Linked DNA regions of Homo sapiens: regions 2 and 3 are each linked to region 1. The links are contacts of gene promoters, found by promoter capture Hi-C in blood cells and fetal thymus (Javierre and others, 2016). All regions are on one chromosome and are shown on one strand. Each heading gives the region's core, a stretch centred on a gene start or on the middle of the fragment in contact. The rest is flanking DNA. Distances are from core to core; before and after follow the strand shown.

Evidence for each region. Contacts are between HindIII fragments. The CHiCAGO score rates a contact against its expected background, and 5 or more counts as called.
Region 2: a fragment that was not itself captured here is called in contact with the fragment with the promoter of C2CD4A in region 1 in 2 of 17 cell types (total B cells and naive B cells); the score reaches 6.1 in total B cells.
Region 3: a fragment that was not itself captured here is called in contact with the fragment with the promoter of C2CD4A in region 1 in 6 of 17 cell types (total B cells, naive B cells, activated CD4 T cells and 3 more); the score reaches 7.0 in total B cells.

What each region holds. Positions count from the first base shown.
Region 1 is chr15:62,065,568-62,069,305 of GRCh38, forward strand. It overlaps C2CD4A (C2 calcium dependent domain containing 4A), which reads left to right and starts at 1,410. Exons shown (of 2, transcript NM_207322.3): 1 at 1,410-1,521; 2 at 2,018-3,738. The coding sequence starts at 2,047. The coding sequence ends at 3,156. RefSeq lists enhancers at 1,064-1,233, 1,634-2,149 and silencers at 1,223-1,517, 2,380-2,429, 2,560-2,699, 2,750-3,239. The HindIII fragment of the contact is 6,406 bases long and covers 1-3,711 here.
Region 2 is chr15:61,992,163-61,996,332 of GRCh38, forward strand. The region is part of intron 16 of VPS13C (vacuolar protein sorting 13 homolog C); the gene reads right to left. Among named protein-coding and RNA genes, the nearest start is that of VPS13C, 66 kb to the right of the region's middle. The HindIII fragment of the contact is 2,331 bases long and covers 620-2,950 here.
Region 3 is chr15:61,969,091-61,972,858 of GRCh38, forward strand. VPS13C (vacuolar protein sorting 13 homolog C) reads right to left here. Exons shown (of 85, transcript NM_020821.3): 27 at 3,535-3,674; 28 at 209-362. Among named protein-coding and RNA genes, the nearest start is that of VPS13C, 89 kb to the right of the region's middle. The HindIII fragment of the contact is 5,335 bases long and covers 1-3,768 here.

The DNA of each region.
Region 1 (3,738 bases), core at 160-2,659:
TACTCATGATAACCGTATAGGTTGACACTATTATTAATTTTAAATTTGATACTGTGGCTTAGAACAGTTAACTTGCTCAAGGTCACATAGCAACCATTCTGGCATTAACAGTAGATCCAATTTCAGACCCAATTTTCTTAACCACTATACTTTACAACTTTCCTTCTATCTTTATTAATAATAATCAGTTCTATGTATTTAGCACTTACCATGTTACATGGTGCAAAATATTTTACATTATTATTTCCCCAAACAGCTCATTTATACCCATTAGTAGGTATGATTTCCTCCATTTCCCATCATTATGTGACCTTGGATAAGATACTTGACCTCTGAAACTGAGTTTTCATCTATAAAATAAGGATGATCCGAATATGCAGGGTTTCTGTGACAGTTCTACAGACTATATGTAAATCATCTAGCACAGTGCCTGTGTGTCCTGGAAACAAAATGCACATGCCCTATCCTGAAATCATTTTTGCATGAATTCAATTTAATTCATTAAATATTATTTAGACAAGTGAATAGTTTGCAAGGCAGTATCTTAGGCAGAAATATCTGCCTGAACGCTGAACAAAATGCCTCAGATCTCTTTCAGCCTGAGCTAACTGGAAGCAACTCTCTTACAAAATGAACACAGGTTAGTTTTCAAAAGGAAGGAAAAGGGTCTCTCTGGTGGGCACAGCCTAGAAAGGCCAGATGTAGTCAGGGCGCCTCCAAAGGATGATTCCAACTGCCCAGATGCATGCAAGTGTACATTTTCCCGATAAAAAATCAGCACACATGGCTTAAGAAGTAGATTGTGATTTTTTAAATTGATGTATAACATACAATAAAGTACTCTAATCTTAAGTGTACACTAGTTGATTGTTTTTACATATGGATACACCTCTGTAACTCCACCCTGATCAAGACATGAAATGTTCCCCCTAACCCAGAGGGGTTTATAATCAGAAAAGAACATCTAAAATCAGAACTGAAAACCGGAAAGCAAGTAAAGAACTTCGAAAGCTGGGCAACTGGGAAGCTGGATTTGGGGAAGGGTATTAGGCAAGAATAAGACAAACCGGACTTGTCTTCATTTTAATGGTGAATGTAGAGTACTTCTACGTGCTCACATTCATTACGCCCGTCGATCCTCACAATGACTCTGCGGTATAGTAGAGACTTAATACCATTTTGCATGTGAGGAAACAGAAACTTGTTCGGGGTTTCCGAGGAAAACACCTCCACCTGAAGCCGGAGAGAGAAAGAACTGGGTCTCCAAACCTTGCTCAGCAAATCCAGCCACGTGGCAGAGGGACAGGGAAGAGCCTGGCGTCAGGTTACCAGGCAGCGCCCCTCTGCTCGGCCCACTGGCAAGCGCTCCCAGCGGCAGGTATAAAAGCTCAGGCTGGCAGTCCTTGAACACTGGTGCTGAACCCCGCCGCGCGCGCTTTGAATTTCCCAGCCGCTAAGCGCCTCTCCTGGTCGGTGTCCCAGGCAGAAAGGTGCAGAGACCCATCTGACGCAGGACTCCAGGTATTTTAGGAGGGACCCATCGGCTTGCTTAATTCCCTGGGGGATTCGTCTGAGGCTCTTTGCCTCTGCAAGGGGAGAACCAGCCACAGTTTCCCGGAAGGAATAACAATTACTTTAATTCTAGCTGAGGACTAGACTGCTATGGTCCAAAGAGTCAGGAAACGATTGCAAGGCAATCGTTGGCACAGAGAACAGAGCGACTGAAGTTACAATCCAGCATTTTGTGAATCTCTGCCTTAGGCCAGCCAGGGCGGAGAGGGATTAAAACAAGCTCCGAAGTGTGTATTACAACACAGTTGAGATAGGACAAAAGAAAAACAGTTGTTTTTCGCTCACTGAAAAAATAGTTTGCAATAGCGGCAAGCAAGAGCAGTTTGCCTTGTTTCGGGAAAGGCAGGAAGAAACACCCCGAAAGTATTAATAGGAGAAAAGGAACAGGATTTACTGCACCTTGCGGGACTCGCTCTGACGATCCTTGTGCCTTTGTGCACTGCAGGTAGACAAGCTCCAGCAGAGAGTGGCCAGATGTGGTGCCTGGAGCGACTCCGCTTGGGTCCTGAGTGCCTTCGGCGGAGCGGAGACTGGCTTCTCCCGGGTCGGGCCCGCGGAGCCAAGTCTCGCACCACCGCCGCGTGCGCAAATGTGCTCACTCCGGACCGCATCCCTGAGTTCTGCATCCCGCCACGGCTCATGCCCCGCCTGGCCTTGGCTGCGCTCCGGAATTCTTGGGTCGAAGAAGCAGGGATGGACGAGGGCGCCGGCCGCACAGACTGGGACCCGCGCTCGCAGGCCGCGCTGTCACTGCCGCACCTGCCCCGTGTGCGCACCGCCTACGGCTTCTGCGCGCTGCTCGAGAGCCCGCACACGCGCCGCAAGGAGTCGCTCCTGCTCGGGGGCCCGCCCGCGCCCCGGCCCCGGGCCCACACCTACGGCGGCGGCGGCGGCCCGGACGCCCTCCTGGGGACCCTGCGCGTCCCGCGAGCTCCGGGCCCGGCGACCCCCGCGGCCCCCGGCTGTCCCCGCCCGCCCCAGGACGCGCTCGCCCGGCGGCCCCGCGGCTGCCGCCTCCTGCGCGTCCCCGACGGGCTGCTGAGTCGCGCGCTGCGGGCTGGGAGGAGTCGCCGCCTGACCCGCGTCCGCTCCGTCTCCAGCGGGAACGAGGACAAGGAGCGCCGCGCGGGCTCCCAGTCCCCGGCCCGGGCCCCCTCCACGAGCCCGCCGTCGTCCCGGGTCCCGTTTCCCGAGCGCCTGGAGGCCGAGGGCACCGTGGCTCTGGGCCGCGCCGGCGACGCCCTGCGCCTGGCCGCCGAGTACTGTCCGGGAACCGGGCGGCTCCGCCTCCGGCTGCTCCGCGCCGAGAGCCCGGCCGGAGGCGCCCCCGGGCCCCGAGCCGTCAGCTGTCGCCTCAGCCTCGTCCTGCGGCCGCCGGGCACCGCGCTTCGGCAATGCAGCACTGTGGTGGGGCGCAGCCGCAAGGCCTCCTTTGACCAGGACTTCTGCTTCGACGGCCTCTCGGAGGACGAAGTGCGCCGCCTGGCCGTTCGAGTCAAGGCCCGGGACGAGGGCCGCGGCCGGGAGCGGGGCCGCCTGCTGGGCCAGGGTGAGCTGTCCCTGGGCGCCCTCCTGCTGCTCTGAGGGCCCAGCCCTCCCCGGGGCGCTCTGCCCGGGGGACTCCGGACACTGACAGCCGCGTGGTACAAAATAAACGTGTATTTGTTGTTCTTATCAGTCCCGTTTCAGTACAACACTGGCAGAGATGATTCTAGATTAACTATCCCAGTAAAAGATATGATATTTTCCATAGATACCTCCAGAATTTTTTTCAGCAAATGGAATGGTTCTACAGTGTTTCCCAATATAGACAGCCATTTGCATACCATATGTACCACACACGCCTAGGAAATAATGAATCACATGAAGTGTTAGAACTAGAAAGTGTCTTGGCGATCTGTTTGCTCCAATCACCTCATTTTAAAATTGGTGCTTTCCACAACATGCATGGAGACCATCTTGGAGCATTTACTTTTGAAGCATTTTGTTTAAGACCCCGGATAAGAAAATGAGGGCAAAAGAGGTGAAGTGACTTGTCCAAGATCAACAGTGAATTATTAGTTGGAACGCCAGCCTGATACTCCTAGCTATATCTCACTGGAAAAGCATTGGAGAAAATGAAACCATTTTAATATTCTAAGCTTAAATAATAGTTATAATAGGCTA
Region 2 (4,170 bases), core at 535-3,034, 73 kb before region 1:
ACACACCCAAAAAAGTATTAATTTAAAACAATTATATTTCAGAATTCATATACAATGCTGGCTTGCTAACTAGGACAGTGGCAGAAGGAGGGATATAAATTAAAATAGTCCTTAAATCTAATTTCACCCTCTTTTCTCAACAAATCCTGACTTGATTTTCTATCACTCCTTCTCTTTGCCCACTTTTCAGAGAAATATGGATGAATAACCAAAAGGCAGAATACAGGGATAAACAAAATAAAGGGGATAAGTAATTTAGATTATATGTTCTCATTCCCTGAATAAGTAAATTTCAATAATTTTTCCACTTAAAGTATTTGAAATTGGTAGTGAATCGGTAACATATTGTAAGCCTCTGTGTGTAATAAAAAGTGGAATAATACAAAAGAGAAGATAAAAGTAAAGAGTTGAATTCTATAGTAAAGAGAACAGGTTTGATTGGTGAATGTAAAGACTAAGGATGGGCAAAATGTTAAACTTTTGTCACAAGCTAGGGATGAGTATATACATTTTCAAGCCCTGTTTGAAACTGCAAGATGAAAGTAAATGACAAATCAGCTACTGTGGATACCACAGCTCAGTGGTATTCAATCCTTGCTGCACAAAAGAATCATCTAGAAGCTTTATGAGAAAAAATGCCAAAGCCAAAGCCCCACCACACAACAATTAAATCAAATCTTGAGAGAGTGGGTTCTCTCTCAAGAAAGAGGTATTTTTTTTTTAATTCCCCTGGTGATTCTAACATGCAGCCAAGGTTCAGAACCACTGAGATGACAACAAACTAGTTTCCTTCAACAGCAGAGATCATGATAAAGGGAATTAACTGCTTCAACAGTTTCACAAGTAGATAAAACCGAGCTTTTTTGGAAATGACACCCAATTAAATGTATATCATCTGAGTTTTTCCACTTTTAAGAATCTTCTATGAATTCTTTTAGGGAAAATGCAACCAGAAACTTCAAGTTTGAACCTCTCTTAGATACTGAGACTTAATAAACAGATGAATTCATGAACAGTTTTTACAAATCTAAAAGCAGAAAAAGCTAAAAAGCATTTGGATATTTTATTAACATCTCTTTTAACCAAACTGATAGCTTTAAGTTTTAAAAGGGCAGGCACTAAATTGTATTTTTTCATTGTTACCATATTCTTAGCTACCATAAAAATTATTCTTTATAAAAATAGATAATATATTTTTTTACACTTTGGGGTAAAGAAGCCATTTTATTTTGGAAAAAAAAATTAACTGAAATTAACCTTTTTAAAATATCCTAAGAGAAATCAAGATAGTATGGCGACAAACCCCAACATTCAACTTCCTCCCAAGTCTCTACCTAAATATCTGAAAACCTTTAAAAGAAAGATAAAGCCATTATTAGCATTAGCGTTGAAATCTTAAAGGTGTGATCAGCATGCTACAAATTTCAAGGAATTTAAAAATAAACTGAAAATTTTACACATAATAAAGAGAAAAAGAGATGAATTAGGAAAGCACACAATCAAAAATACTAATTTCAAACATAGAAAGGCTATGAAGAAAATGAAGTAACAAAGAACAGTGAAGAAAAGTTTTCCTACGTTTGTCAATTACCATTTAAAAATAAATAAGAATTAATATTTAAAAATATGAGAGCTGTCACAGAACTATACACACACATCATACCAATGTCAAATTCTTGGTTTTGGTATTGTACTATATTATGTAGATGTAAGCACTGGGAGAAACAGGTGAAGGGTACACAGTACCTCTGTGAACTATCTTTGCTACTTATTGTAAACCTATAGTTATTTCAAAGCATATATATATATATATGAGACCAAAAATAAATAAAAATATACAAATGAGACCTAAGATGAAGACGGATGCAGAGCGCTTTCCCTTTCCCTCAATTACCCCCTTGGTGCCTTCACTTCCTTCTCTGTCCAACTAAGTTGCCCATGGTAAATAACTTCAGCCAATCCTCCGCCTACATTTTAAACTCAGGCCCTATGTACTTTCCATTACAATGAAAAAAATCAATGTTAGATAGATCAAATTGCCTTCTCTTCTACATCCATCCTTCTTTGTCTACTGCATCCCAATATTAGTTCTCTTTCTTCACTTTTTAAGCAACTGTAGCTGGTACTAAGAATACACATTTAAGCTAAAGCAACTTAAGTCATGGAGGATTGAAATTGTTATCCTCCGGTGATTCATTCCTCTCTTTCATAGGAACAATCCCCAGCAGTAGCAAATACCTTTTAAAATATTCATACTTTCTGACCTAATAACTTGTACCTTGGGGAATTTGCCTGTGAGAAAATAAGGGATGTTTGAGAAAATGCAGAGATAAGGCTATTCATTGTAGAGTCACTTACAATTAAATATAGCCAGTGAGAAACAGTGAAGCAAATTCTGGTATATGCACAGAATGGAATACTATTCAGCTATCTTTTTTTTTTTTTGAGATGGATTCTCACTCTGTCACCCAGGCTGGAGTGCAATGGCATGGTCTCGGCTCACTGCAACCTCCACCTCCCGGGTTCAAGCGATTCTCCTGCCTCAGTCTCCCAAGTAGCTGAGATTACATGTGTGTGCCACCACACCCGGCTAATTTTTGTATTTTTAGTAGAGACAGGGTTTCACTATGTTGGCCAGGCTGGTCTCAAACTCCTGACCTCGTGATCTGCCCATCTCAGCTTCCCAAAGGGCTGGGATTACAGGAGTGGGCCATCACATCGGCCTCTATTCAGCTATCTTAAATGATGTCAGATAAATGATTCTGCTGACATTGAAAATGGATACTACAATTTTTTTAAAGAAAGAAAAGCAAGTTACAAAACCTTCTCTTGACTCCACATTGTCCACCACTTACTGCTCCATTTATCTGCTCTGCTTACAGCAAAGAATCATACTGTTCCTACTCACTGTCTCCCATTCCCAGTCGTTCATGCTCTCTCATTCCTATCAAGCTTCTGCCCACATTATTCTATAAAAATTGCTCTTAAGTTACTTCTTTATTACTAATTTCAGTGAAAGTTTTAGTTCCATGGTGGCATAAGCCATCTTCAACCCAAATAAAACTTCTGAACAAAATATAAAAAAGATCTACCCGAGACTTTGAAAAGTAAGCAAAGCAGGCAAATAGTAGAAGGGGTCACAATTTGGAGAGTGACCTGCACAAGACTGAGTTTTCCATGACGTTTGTTTTTCTCACATGTTGTGCCCACCCCATTCCACCCCACCACCATAATCTCCCATTTCTAATGTTCTTGCCCTTGAGCATGGGCATGACTTGCAACTAGTTTCTAAACAATAAAGTATGGCAAAGGTAATAAAATATACTTGATTCTGTGTACAATGTGTATGTTATATACACAAGACTTTAGTGACCATCCTGCTGCAGTTTCTCTCTTCTTTTGAAGAAGAAAGCTGCCATGTTATGGTTGTCTATGTTGGGAAGCCCATTAGGCAAGGAACTGAAGATGATATTTAGAAGCTGAGGGCAGCTCTAGCCAGAAATCAACAAAAAGCTGGAGCCTTCCATCCCACAGCCACGAAGAGCTAAATTCTGCCAAGGAAAGTGGATCCTCCATCAGTCACGTTTCAGATACCATAGTCCCAAACCAACATCTTGCAATATTTTAAAACCTTAAGCAGAGGACTCAATTAACCCATACCTAGACTCCAGACCCAGAGAAACTCAGAGATAATAGCTATGTGTTGTTTCAAGCCACTACGTTTGTTATACAGACATAGAAAACTACTATACATGGCTCTGCCCTGAGCAAGGGCCTCACCATGGAGCACAGCAGAGGAACATGGAGCACAGTTGCACAGGCAGCTAAAACCCTGAGAAAAACTCCGTATTTCCGGCCAAGGAACCAGTAAATGGAGTTCATGAAGGCCAGAATGTATGTGAGAAAACCCTGGCAGGGAAAGAGCTGGAGAAGGGGATATCTCTTAATTCTGTATATGAACCTGTCAAAATCTCAGTCTAATACAAGCTTCACATATGTGAAACTAACCCAAACCAAAGTAGCAAAGGTCTTAGCCACATGAACTAATATGAACCACCCACGCAAGTCTCAAACTAACCCCAGTAATATTCACGTGTAAAACAAACTCAAACTTACATACCAAAGGTTTAAAGAGCTGAACTGAAATCTGAACCACCATCCACAGAAGGC
Region 3 (3,768 bases), core at 112-2,611, 97 kb before region 1:
TGACTTAGTTTACTTACATTTAAACCATAGATTATAACACTGCCTACCCCATAGCACTGCTATAAGGATTAAATGAGTTATTACTTGTAAAGTGCTTACAACAGTGTAGCTATTATTTATTATAAATACAATATAAATGAAAGTGTTTCAGATACTCAAAAGTCCTATCTTTATTATAGGCTATTATTTCTATTTTTATGGGTATTACCTTCAATTTCATGATAATCCAAGCTGATTTTCTTTAAATAAGATACCACAGTTAAGTCAAATGTTCTCATTGTGGCCTCTGTTCCTAACTGAGTAACATTAAATACTAGAATTGTATCTTCTTCTTTCTGCTGTTTAGTAAATTCCAAAATCACCTAAAAGAATTAGAGTCAATGAAAAGTTGATAAGAAGTCTGAATCATACTTAAAATAATGAAAACAAAATCTTTCTCCATACACATCACCATGAGAATAGTAACTTTGCTCATATCCTTCTGCCACCATAGCAATTTAATATAATTGGAAATTACAAAACTTAAATTCTATTGTTGAGAATATAAATACATTTATAAAAAAATCATGACAGAATTTAACTTCATTGTTTACTTTTTCTAATTTAGTAAAATAGGAATGTATAGATTCTTCCTAAATATGATTTTCTTAAACCTGTATTTCAAAGCAAAAATCATGTTTAGTAATTTTTTTTAAAGTATCCCCATTAAAGTAGAAAGTAAGACAAGATGTTCTCTATCATACTACTATTTAAGTTAACTCTGGAAATTATAGCCTGTATATTTAGCCAATAAAAAATAAAACGTGGTAATTTTTAAAAGATGTAAGTGCTTTTGATATTCTAATCAAAAGGTGTAGATCTTTGTCTCCACCCTTTGAATATGGGCAGGCTTGTGAATGCTTAAATCAATATAGTAGAAAGGAACTGATACTATAAGGACTTCCGGTGTCATAAAAGACCACGAAACTCCTACCTGGGAACACTCATACTGGGGGAAGCCAGCCACCATGTAAAAAGTTCAACTACTCAGACTACCACGGCTTTTACCATGCTGAGAGGCCATAAGTAGGTGTTTCAGTCAATAGTCCCAGCTAGCTCCCAGCCAATAGCCAGTATCAATTGCAAGCCTCATAAGTGAGCCACATGGACATCCAGCTTGAGGCTTCAGATGACTGCAACCCCAGTCAACATCAGAATGCAACCGAATGAAAGACTATGCACAAAATTACCCAGGTGAGCCCTTCCAAACTTCCTAACCCACAAACCTGTAAGCAAAATAAAATAGTTGTTTTAAGCTATTTAACTTGATAGGCAGCAATAATAACCAGAATAATATAAATACTGAAAAAAGGCAAAAAATATTATTATTAGCAGATGTTATAATTACATACTTAGGTAACACTTTAAAAATACTTAAAGAAGAGGCCAAGTGCGGTGGCTCATGCCTGTAATCCCAGCACTTTGGGAGGCCAAGGCAGGCGGATCACTTGAGCCCGAGAGTTCAAGACCAGCCTGGGCAACATAGTAAAACCGAATCTCCACAAAAAATGTAAAACATTAGCTGGGTGTGGTGGTATGTGCCTGTAATCTCAGCCTCTTGGGAGGCTGGGGTATTCTGTTATAGTAACAGAAAACAAATTAAGACATTCTTTATCACCATGAAGTTTACATTCTAGGGAAAGTTGGAGAAAATGAAGGTTGCTGTCTTGTCTTGGGTGGTCAGATCTTTCCAATAAGATGACAATTGAACAAATACCTGAAGTTAGTTTAAAAAAAAAAAAAAAAAAAAAATCAAGCCATGCAGGAAAAGAGTGTTCCAGGCAAAGGAAATAGCAAGCACAAAGAATGTGCTTTGGTATACAGAAGGAAAAACATAAGACAAGTGTAAGCTCCATGCGGCAAGAACTTAACTCACTGCTATTTTCCAGTACCTAAAATAATGTCTGGTAATAATGGCACATGATCAATACCTATTGAAGGGATAGATGGAATATGGCTGAAGCAGAGTGAGCAAGGCAGGAAAGAACTGGCCAGTCATATGAGGTGTTACAAATGTAAGGCCTTGTAGGCCATGGAAAGGACTTAGTCCTTTACTTTTAGTGACATTTGAAGTCAGTGGAGGATACTGAGCAGAGTAGTAACATGATCTGACATTCCCTTTTATTTTTATTTTACTTTATTTTATTTTAGAGACAAAGTCTTGCTCTGTCACCTAGGCTGGAGTGCAGTGGTGCACTCTCAGCTCACTGCAACCTTTACCTCCCAGGTTCAAGCAATTCTCCTGCCTCAGCCTCCCGAGCAGCTGGGATTACAGGTGCCCACCACCACGCCTAGCTAATTTTGTATTTTTAGTAGAGATGGGGTTTCACCGTGTTGCCCAGGCTGGTCTTGAACTCCTGACCTCAGATGATCCACCCACCTCGGGCTCCCAAAGTGCTGGGATTACAGGCGTGAGCCACCATGCCCGGCCTGACATTCACTCTTAAAGGATCAATCTGGCAAATGACAGAACAGAGTACCTGATGGAAGCAAAGACAGTTAAGAGGCTATTGCAAAATAATCCAGGGAAGAAGATTACAGTGACTTAGACAGTACAGTAGCAGCAGAAAGGAAGAGCAATCATCTGAATGCATTTTGAATTTAGGGTCATGGGATTTAATGATATTTTGGATGTAGTATGGAGAAAGAGAGAAGTTGAAGAAGGCTAACAGTAAAGAACATACCTTTCTCTAAACAAATACCAATAGTACTTAGGTGTGTACACACAGTTAAAATGTAGTATTTCTGACATTATATTTTAGGACATGCTCTCACTATGGCACATGAAACAGTCAATAAGGAACACCTCCATTTTCTATCCTTTTTGTTTTATTATCAAAGCAAGACAAATTTTTTATAGAAATCTGGAATACATGTAAAAGTAAGCAGGCATGTATAAAAACCTGTAATCTCACCACCCAGAGATGAACACTGTCTGTCATTTATCAAAGAAAACATATAAATATAACTTCATATGGAATCATAATATCTTTGGTATTATAATCTTTTTGTTTTCCCAAATAATGACATACCGTGAACATCTCTCCATGTTTCCTTTTACCACATGACTTTTAAAGGCTGTAAACGTATGTTGGAAATTTAGGTTGTTTACATTTTTCCAAATCATAAACATGATAATGAGCAATATTATTTAGCTTAAAAGTGAAAAGTTTAAAAAATTAAAGTAGGCATGTCATAAAAATTTTCTGCAGAAAAGTAAGTTCTAATTAAAAGTCTAAGCTCTTCCAGAATAAATTAGATATGCCACAGATCATTCTTACATCAGTTTTTTTAAAAGCATTTCATTGTTAAAAATCTCTGTGTGTGTGAGAGAGAAAGAGTGTGTGTGAGAGTGTGTATGTGCATGTGTGTTGGGCAGCAGGAAAGACAGAGTACCACATTTTTAATATACTTGACATTTGGGTCTAGCTTGAGGATAGCTTACAAGATAGTGACAGCCAGAATATATCTATTTATAGACAAAAAAGCACATACTTCTTTAATTTCAAACTTGAGTAGAAGATTGATGAGCTCCTCATTTGGGACCTCTGCAGCTTTTTTAAGTTCTGATCCTTTCATACTTTTACAAGTCTGTGGTTCTCCATCTTCAGCATCAAAATACTCATCATCAGACTCTAAAGGAAAAAGACATTTATTTGATCTGAGACAATGTACATTGAAAACTGCATGAAACACTCAAATCTAAATCTCTAAAAAGTGAAATTCATT